2 separate regions of the Homo sapiens genome follow, and region 1 is linked to region 2. Evidence: promoter capture Hi-C in human tissues and cell types (Jung and others, 2019). All regions are on one chromosome and are shown on one strand. Each heading gives the region's core, a stretch centred on a gene start or on the middle of the fragment in contact. The rest is flanking DNA. Distances are from core to core; before and after follow the strand shown. Region 1 has its middle 6.6 kb from the start of GLYATL1-AS1. Region 2 holds the start of MPEG1 (macrophage expressed 1).

Region 1 (5,016 bases), core at 898-3,397, 150 kb after region 2:
TTCATGACAGCTTAAGAATATCTATATGTGCCCTCGGAGTCACAAGGTTTTGTGCTGAAATGGGTGAGCTACTTAAGTTGGGACAATAAGATGGCAAAGAGAAGTTTCCTCAGGAAACCAGGGTAGACTCATTATCGGGAGAGTAACACATCCGATATTACTGCAGCTGTATTTGTCACTATGCAGAAAGCCAGCCAGGGGATAACATGAAAAGCAGAACATAGAGACTGAACACACAAACAAGTCCTCAAAGAAACTGTATACTACTGAATTAAGAGCTCTGCTGAATTCTGGAATGTCCACTCAGGTGAACCAATGAATCCATTTTATTGTTTCACAAGTAGAAAATATTTTTACTGTCAATATGAAAAGCTCTTATTGATATAAAGCCTACTGTGATCTTGGCACCACACTACCTTACCAGTATAGAAAGCATTATTTGCCTACCACATTCTTGAATTCTCCTTACATAGCATCAAATGCAGCTATCCTGTTCCCCAAATATGTTTTCCTGTGTACATGACTTTACTCAGGCCATTCCTTCATCCTTGATACACTAGTGAAATGTTATTCATTCTTTTTAAAAAATAAATTAGTTTTAGACATACCAAATGCATAATTAATGTACATAATTAGTGTATACAACTTGATGAATGTGAAGATACATGATCACCACATTCTATGACATCGACCTATCTATCACCTCCCAAAGTCTCTTCCTGCCCTCTTATTTATTATTTTTGTAATAAGAACACAACATAAAATCTATCATTTTAGCAAGAATTTGAGTGCACAATAGTGTTAACTATTGGCACTCATGCTGTTCAGATCCCTACAACTTATTCACCTTGTGTAAGGAAACTTTGTATCCCTTGACTAACACTTCCATTTTTCTCTCTTCCCAGCCCAGCAACCACTTCTACATCTATGAGTTTGACAATTTTAGATTTATTTTTCATTAATAAATCATTTCTCATATGATGCTGCTGTAGTTTCCTTAGTCTGAATTAAGTATTCTTCTCTCTGTACTCTAAAATCACTTGTTTATATCTCAATTTAGTATTATCATTTTGCATATTTTGAGCAAAATAGTGTGGGTCAAAAACCAGTCTCTGTAGTCTGACTGCCTAGGTTAAGATCCTTGCTTTGAAGTCCGTTACTTCTGCAACTATAAGCAAGTTGAGCTTCAGTTTCTTCTTTTGTAAAATAAGTATGATAATAACTACTGCACAGTTCTATTAACTGTTAAATGGGATAATCCATATGATGGGACACAATTCCAGGCACACAGTGTTTCCTCAGAAAACATTAGCTAATTATTTTTGCCTGTCTATACTTTCCATGATTTTAAGTGTCTATATTATTTGTTAGTCATCTTGTTGTCTTAAGACACGTTTAGCATTATTAACTCATACTCTATCATTATGCTTTCCACAAGCACTTATGTGTATGAGCTACCCAAATATATTTTAAACTACCTAAGAGAAAGGCTTATAACGACCATTGTTTAAGAACTTATCTCCAAGAACCTCATATGGCACTATGGTTAGACTATCACTCCTCTGAGGAGTTGTAAAAAAGTAGATATACCTTTGAAACTTCAGGTCTAGTCCTCGGGTCATCTTTTGTGGCACTAAGTGACTTGTTTTCTTCAGTCTTCATGGAATTCATGATGAATTCGAAGAGAATATAACTAATATTTACTAGTGGATAAGATGGAGAAACAAGGATTGAGTTCATTCTGCCACATGAAATGTCTAAAAAAAACCCAAAAAGGAAAGATCTGTGAAATAACAACTCTCAATCATTGGACATCAGGCTGTGTGGGACCTCATCTCTGATATCTGAGAAGAAAATCATATGAGGTAAGCCCTGTGGCTATTTAGGTTACTGTATGGAGTTTCCAAGGCATATCTTAGGCAAGAGAACAGGCAGAGTCTAGCAGTTTCCCTGAGTTGAGAAGACAAGCTTGGAGTTTTGGGAGGCCAGGCTGACTGGAGCTTGTATGGCAGAGTACTAGGGAGAAGAGAGCCACAGGAGCACATAGTATCAGAGATCTGCAGTGGGTATCCCTTGAGATTTCAGCTTGGTCAATGCATGAGTGGAATAAAGCTGTTGAAAAGGAACAGGAAAAAGAAGTACCCAAAAGGAGCAGATGTAACAATTTCTGAGGCTCATACAGGACAGGGAATAGATTCAGTTCACAAAAATCTGACTAGAAAATTTCACAATTCATGAAATATCAGAGAGACTACTCTGAAAGGTATTTCTTCCACAGTGGGACAAAATTAGCCCTAGTTCTGCTCCCACCTAACAAATAAAAGCAAACTTTGAAATTATAAAATGGTTTCCATGTAAAATATCAAGGTACTAAAATAAAGTTCAAGAATATTGATGGGAAGGTAAAAATTTCTGGCACCCAAAGTTGTGAAATTAACAAAGCTTGATATCTAATAAAACAATCAGCAAGCATTTAAGAAGTGGATAAATATGACCCATAATGACTAGGAACATCAGTGAATAGAGACAGATCCAGAAGTGAGAGAGATGATGGAACTAGTAGTCAGAAATATTAAAAGTCATTACCTTGAATTTCTGGCCAAAATGGAAGAACAGGGACTGGATTTCCCCCTAGTCTGAAAGCAAAACAAAACAAAAATGGGCAAAATATATGAAACAACGCTTTGCGAGGAACTGGACATCATGCAATTAAGGATAGTGACAACTGAGATGCATCCTACAATCCACGCTAGCAGACTAACTTGAAGGATTCCAGGCCAGTGTCGCAAGGAAGGGCAGCAAGACAAAGCCAGTTGGAATTCTAGATTTGAGGAGACAAAGCGGAGAGACCAGGGTGGCAAGAGGTCACGGGCCACAGACCCTGGTGGGAGACCTGCACAGAGAGGGAACTCCGGATATATGAAGAGGGTTCCCCTAAAGCATTCAGCTGCGTACTGATCAGAGCAGCAGCTGAGAAAACTTCCCAAGGCCAGGAAAGAACCACCCTAAAACTGTCATAGTCTAACTTTCCTCCAACCCTCTCCCTGTAACCCTTTTGGGGATCCCCGTTTTCTCATTTCTAGATTAAGGTCTTTGGCTCAGATGAAACTTTTATTGTTCGTGTGAATTGGTTCCTCTGAGCTTTTTAAAAAGGATTCCAGATCCCACCCTCACAGACTCTGATTCAGTATGTCGGGGTGTGGCTATGGAATCTGCATTTTTACCTGCCTCACTCCACAACCCCTGCCTCAAACTCGCACCAAGTTCTTTGAACAGCTGCCTCTGTCACCGCAGGATGACCTCAATGCTTTCCTAAAGCCCCAGAACCAATTAAGGTAACCTGTGCTTGAAGCTGTGCTTGCTTACAGAAACAGAGACTGGATGTCAGTAACCACCGTGCTACAAGATGGGAAACGAACTTAGAAGCGCTACCCTAACCTGAATCCTCAATTGCTAATTACCATACCTCAATCTGTGCCTACGGGAGAAATGCAGCTTGCTAGGCACATGTAGTGTTGGGCGGCAACAGCAAATAGGAGACTGCCACACTCAGCTGGTTCTGGAAAGCCCCATCTCTTTCCAGGAATCCTTGCTTTCCAACTACGTGCCCTAAAAGACCTTAAGGAGCACCCCCACACTACACCCCAGGCACTTTGAGCAGGAGCTCTCCTACTCCATTCCTTGATCAGTGAATAGTTTCTGCTCTGCTTAACCGAACCTGGTCTCCTTCTACGGGCGAGAAAGGCACCGGGTAGGGAAAGGACCCACCAGGGTCAAACGACCCTCTTGAGATTCAGGAACACCCAGATGATCTCCAAGTATCTTTTCAGGAGTACAACTCTTGGCCTTTGAAGCTGAGACGGGAAGGGAATTACAACGGGCGGCTGCCCAGCTCCCCATCCAAAACCTCCTTGACTTTGGGCTGAGGTCCTTCTGCCTACTGCCCTTGTCAGCCATCCTCTTAAGAACTCCAGGTCCGACCCGGGAAAAGAAAAACCACTCATAGAACTGGAGAGTCTGTCCACACGGTGCACGTGCCCGTCAGTGCCCACCGCTCTGGATTCACAGGTGCTGGAAAGTCTGCTCTCTTATATCTCTCAGCTGAACTTTTCCCGCCTAGAAGGGCTCGCCCGCGTGCGGCAGGAGCCTGGGAATTGACACTCTCACTGGCCAATGGACGAAGAGTCTCTGGAGGCTGTTTTTCCCTCATTGGATGTAAATGACTCATCTCTCATCCACTTTGGAAGCCAATTATCATCACTCCAGACAGTGAAGGGAAGGGAAGGATGAGAGCACACGCCTGCGCGCGCGCGGGTGGGTCTGAAGGCCGGGCGGAGGGCACTGCGCGCCCACCCGCACCCCTCCTTATTTGTCTGGATGACCCTTCCCGGTCTCAGTGATCCCCTCTCCGCGCCACTCAGTCCACGGGGACAGCTCCCGCGTCCCAGGATAAACTAAGCAATCACTGCCCTGCTCCTTCCTTCTCATGGGAGTCCCCTGTCTCCCAGTGGAAGCCAGGGAGGAGCTGCGCGGCAGCTGGGCGGAGTGCGAGGCACGTGGCGCTTTCGCGCTTTCCCAGACTTTTGATTGCCAGCTTGGGCAGCGCGCTGGCGGGAGCTGCAGGGCGAATAGCCAGCCAAGTTGCTTAGGTGTGTGGCAGTTGCTGCCATTCTGCAGCTGCGGGGTGGGCGACGGTGGCGGGATGAGCATCCAGGCGGGATCCTTTGGCAGCAGCAGAGAGAGCTCCACCCGGATGATGCAGAGGCTCAGGCTCCAGCGGACTTCAAGTCCCAGAGCAGGCTGCACCCGCGTCTGCGTGAAGTCTCCAGGGATTTGGCCTGATCCGCAAATGAGCTAACTTCGCGGAGGGGCTGGCGAACACAGACAATGCCAGCCTGGACGAGGAAGCGGCCAAAACTGCTTAGGCTTGGTTCCCAGGACGCGCATTACTGAGTGCGGTACTTTACTCTTCGGATGAAGACTCCAGAGTTCGGCCTCCCCAAACTGATATCAAAG
Region 2 (4,431 bases), core at 917-3,416:
ATTCTCATTTCAGGAGAGTGAGCTCTCAACAGGGTCTACTAAAGAGAAAGCAGAGGGTAACAAATTGTCAGCTTGTCTCCAAAGCAGTGTGAGAGTATTCTAATTTTGATGAACCATCCCAGAAATAGTTTGAAGAGAAGTATGTAGGTATTTCAACAGACTTATTGGAAGTACTCAAGGGCATTCAACTCTCATTTTTCTAATTCTGGGATCATGCTGCTGAGGTATAAATTTATGGCTAACTGATTTATAAATTAACTAGAACATCCTGTGCAAAGATTTGGTTCTTTAGCCAAATACAGACTAGGCACTGGTTCATAAATTAATCCCTCTTAGGTGGCTGGTGTCACTTCCCAGAAGCATGATAACTGTGGCACAAATAGAACCAGAATGGCCAGGTGTGGTGGTGCATGACTGCAGTCCCAGATTCCTGGGAAGCTGATGTGGGAGGATTGCTTGAATCCATGAGTTCTGGGCTGTAGTGTGCTATGCCAGTTGGGTGTCTGCACTAAGCTCAGCATCAATATGGTGGCCTCCTTGGAGCAAATCACCAGGTTGCCTAAGGAGGGCTAAACGGGTCCAGGTTGGAAATGGAGCAGGTCAAAACTCCTATGCTGATTAGTAGTGGGACCATGCCTGTGAATAGCTACTGCACTCAAGCCTGGGCAATAAGCAAGACCCTGTCTTGGAAAAAAAAATATACCCGGAATGCAGTATTTCTAGATTTATAGAACACCATCATGGTTTTGATAATAACTGGTGAAGCCCAGCCTGGGAAGCAAGATAACTAGCCTCATTCTTTCTAAAAACACTTCTTTGCTGCATTAATAACCAACAGAGGAATTCAACTCCTTGGAACCTTCCTTCCAGGATGCATACAGGTGATGGTGTAGTGATACCTGTGAATTGCAACATGACTTTTTCAGTCTCAGTACTGTATCTAGTTCATGGTATAATCTTGGGAATGTTAAGGATGCAACTGGGAGCTTCACTAAGTCCTCTGGATTCCCTGGCTACCACTAAGCATACTAAGACATAGCCTAATTGTCCCAAAGAATTAACAGAGTTGGGTTTCAATCAAACCTGTCACCATTGTTTTAAATTATGGGCTCTAATAGAGCTGGCATTGGAACTTGAAAAGAAACTCATGTAATTATATTCTTCTAATGATATAGCAAATGAATTTTTGCTTTTAGAAAAAATATTGGGTAGTGAAGAGCCACATTCTTTTTTATCCACCTAAACTGATTACACACACTTAGCAATGGAACAAAAAATTAAAGGTATAACAGGTACCAACTTCATACAAAATGCACACACACAGAGGATATATAAATGTGTGTACACATACACATATGTTCCTTGGCCCCTGTCTGCTGTTGATAAATCAAAATCTAGATAATAGTGTGGTTTTGTCTTGAACATTTCTATCTGAATGAAAACAACACAGTGTAGGAGTTCCTTGCCCTCGCTTTGAATGCTTAGGACAATGCAAATTGGGGTTTCCCAGCATATTGCAACCGAATCCTCTTCAGGCCCTGTCAGCTGTGCTCCAGACAATGCCATCCCCAAAGACAGAATTGCTATGGTTCATAACAGTGAAACCCACAGGACAAGTGTCCAAGAGTTTCACTCCTTTCTTTTGTGGAAACAGCCTCCACCCTCAGGCAAAGAGGAAACCCAGGGTTGGCCTTGACTAACAGCTTGCATAGGTATGGTGGAGCCAGGGTGTTTCAGTAAGGGTGGTGTGGTCATTTGCCTCTGCATTTATAGTAAAAGAAAACTGATAATGGAGTCCCAAGAGACAGCAGTCAGGGAAAATATGAAACATCAAGTCCAAGAGAATGAGCAAAAAGCAAAGCCAAACTTTCTGGTGGAGGAAGCAGTAGGGTGTGGGGTCGGGATTTTTTTCTAAGTGCACACCCCTGCAGCAGAGTAACCAGCCAGAGCTGGGGGAAAAATTAGGATAGCTACCTGTTAGGCATGTAGGGGTGTGTTTGCATGTTTAGTACGGCATAAATTCTTCAAAGACCTGATGGTCTTTAATATTCCAACCAACTCTCGTTTCCCCATTTTGTCATTAAATTAGCTTAAAGAGGAACTTGTAGCTTTTAGAGAACTCATGAGTTTTCCGCTTCATCATCTGCTTCTGTTTTCTCCATCTTAGTTTGCCCAAAGCTTGCTGGCCGCTGTGTAGGGCTGGTGAGTGGCTGGGGCTGTCTGAGCCATGAACAACTTCAGGGCCACCATCCTCTTCTGGGCAGCGGCAGCATGGGCTAAATCAGGCAAGCCTTCGGGAGAGATGGACGAAGTTGGAGTTCAAAAATGCAAGAATGCCTTGAAACTACCTGTCCTGGAAGTCCTACCTGGAGGGGGCTGGGACAATCTGCGGAATGTGGACATGGGACGAGTTATGGAATTGACTTACTCCAACTGCAGGACAACAGAGGATGGACAGTATATCATCCCTGATGAAATCTTCACCATTCCCCAGAAACAGAGCAACCTGGAGATGAACTCAGAAATCCTGGAATCCTGGGCAAATTACCAGAGTAGCACCTCCTACTCCATCAACACAGAACTCTCTCTTTTTTCCAAAGTCAATGGCAAGTTTTCCACTGAGTTCCAGAGGATGAAGACCCTCCAAGTGAAGGACCAAGCTATAACTACCCGAGTTCAGGTAAGAAACCTCGTCTACACAGTCAAAATCAACCCAACTTTAGAGCTAAGCTCAGGTTTTAGGAAGGAACTCCTTGACATCTCTGACCGTCTAGAGAACAACCAGACGAGGATGGCCACCTACCTGGCAGAACTCCTGGTGCTCAACTATGGCACCCACGTCACCACCAGTGTCGACGCTGGGGCTGCTCTTATTCAGGAGGACCACCTCAGGGCCTCCTTCCTCCAAGACAGCCAGAGCAGTCGTAGTGCCGTGACCGCCTCTGCTGGACTTGCCTTTCAAAACACCGTGAACTTCAAATTTGAGGAAAACTATACCTCGCAGAATGTCCTCACCAAGAGCTACCTCTCAAACCGAACCAACTCCAGGGTGCAGAGCATTGGAGGGGTTCCTTTTTACCCAGGCATCACCCTCCAGGCCTGGCAGCAGGGTATCACCAACCACCTGGTGGCCATCGACCGCTCTGGCCTGCCGCTGCATTTCTTCATCAACCCCAACATGCTACCTGACTTGCCAGGCCCCCTGGTGAAGAAGGTGTCAAAGACAGTGGAAACTGCTGTGAAGCGCTATTATACATTCAACACCTACCCTGGCTGCACAGATCTCAATTCTCCCAACTTCAATTTTCAGGCCAACACGGATGATGGCTCCTGCGAGGGGAAAATGACCAACTTCTCTTTCGGTGGGGTTTATCAGGAATGCACTCAGCTCTCAGGGAATAGGGATGTCCTCCTCTGCCAAAAGTTGGAGCAGAAGAATCCACTCACTGGTGATTTCTCCTGCCCCTCTGGCTACTCCCCGGTGCACCTGTTATCCCAGATCCACGAGGAGGGTTACAACCACCTGGAGTGTCATCGAAAGTGCACTCTCCTCGTCTTCTGCAAGACCGTGTGTGAAGATGTGTTCCAGGTGGCAAAAGCTGAATTTAGGGCTTTTTGGTGTGTGGCCAGCAGCCAAGTACCTGAAAACTCAGGACTGCTTTTTGGGGGCCTCTTCAGCAGCAAGAGCATAAACCCCATGACAAATGCACAGTCATGCCCAGCCGGCTACTTTCCACTGAGACTCTTTGAAAACCTCAAGGTATGTGTTTCTCAGGACTATGAGTTGGGAAGCAGGTTTGCGGTCCCCTTTGGCGGGTTCTTTAGCTGCACAGTTGGGAACCCCCTGGTAGATCCTGCTATATCCAGAGATTTAGGGGCACCGTCTCTGAAAAAGTGCCCCGGGGGCTTCAGCCAGCACCCAGCCCTCATCAGCGATGGATGCCAAGTGTCCTATTGCGTCAAATCCGGGCTCTTCACAGGAGGGTCCCTGCCCCCTGCCAGGCTCCCACCTTTCACCCGGCCACCCCTCATGAGTCAGGCTGCCACCAATACTGTCATAGTGACCAATTCTGAGAATGCGAGATCCTGGATTAAAGACTCCCAGACCCACCAGTGGAGGCTGGGAGAACCGATAGAGCTGCGGAGGGCCATGAATGTCATCCATGGGGATGGTGGTGGTCTGTCAGGAGGGGCTGCAGCTGGGGTCACAGTGGGGGTCACCACCATTCTGGCTGTTGTTATCACCTTGGCCATCTACGGCACCCGGAAGTTCAAGAAGAAAGCATATCAGGCAATTGAGGAAAGGCAGAGTTTGGTTCCAGGCACTGCAGCAACTGGAGACACCACTTACCAAGAGCAGGGGCAGAGTCCAGCTTAAATCTCTCCCCGAAAATGGTTTCTCTCATCTCCAGTGTGGTCATTGCTGACCAC

What was found. Contacts are between HindIII fragments. The study calls those that stand out against the background at their distance.
Region 1: a contact is called between a fragment that was not itself captured here and the fragment with the promoter of MPEG1 in region 2, in 1 of the 25 tissues and cell types used here (pancreas).

Annotation. Positions count from the first base shown.
Region 1 is chr11:59,062,548-59,067,563 of GRCh38, reverse strand. No RefSeq gene overlaps it. Among named protein-coding and RNA genes, the nearest start is that of GLYATL1-AS1, 6.6 kb to the right of the region's middle. The HindIII fragment of the contact is 5,883 bases long and covers 1-5,016 here.
Region 2 is chr11:59,210,662-59,215,092 of GRCh38, reverse strand. It overlaps MPEG1 (macrophage expressed 1), which reads left to right and starts at 2,166. Exons shown (of 1, transcript NM_001039396.2): 1 at 2,166-4,431. The coding sequence starts at 2,228. The coding sequence ends at 4,378. It also overlaps the pseudogene RN7SL42P. RefSeq lists an enhancer at 1,990-2,189. The HindIII fragment of the contact is 9,754 bases long and covers 1-4,431 here.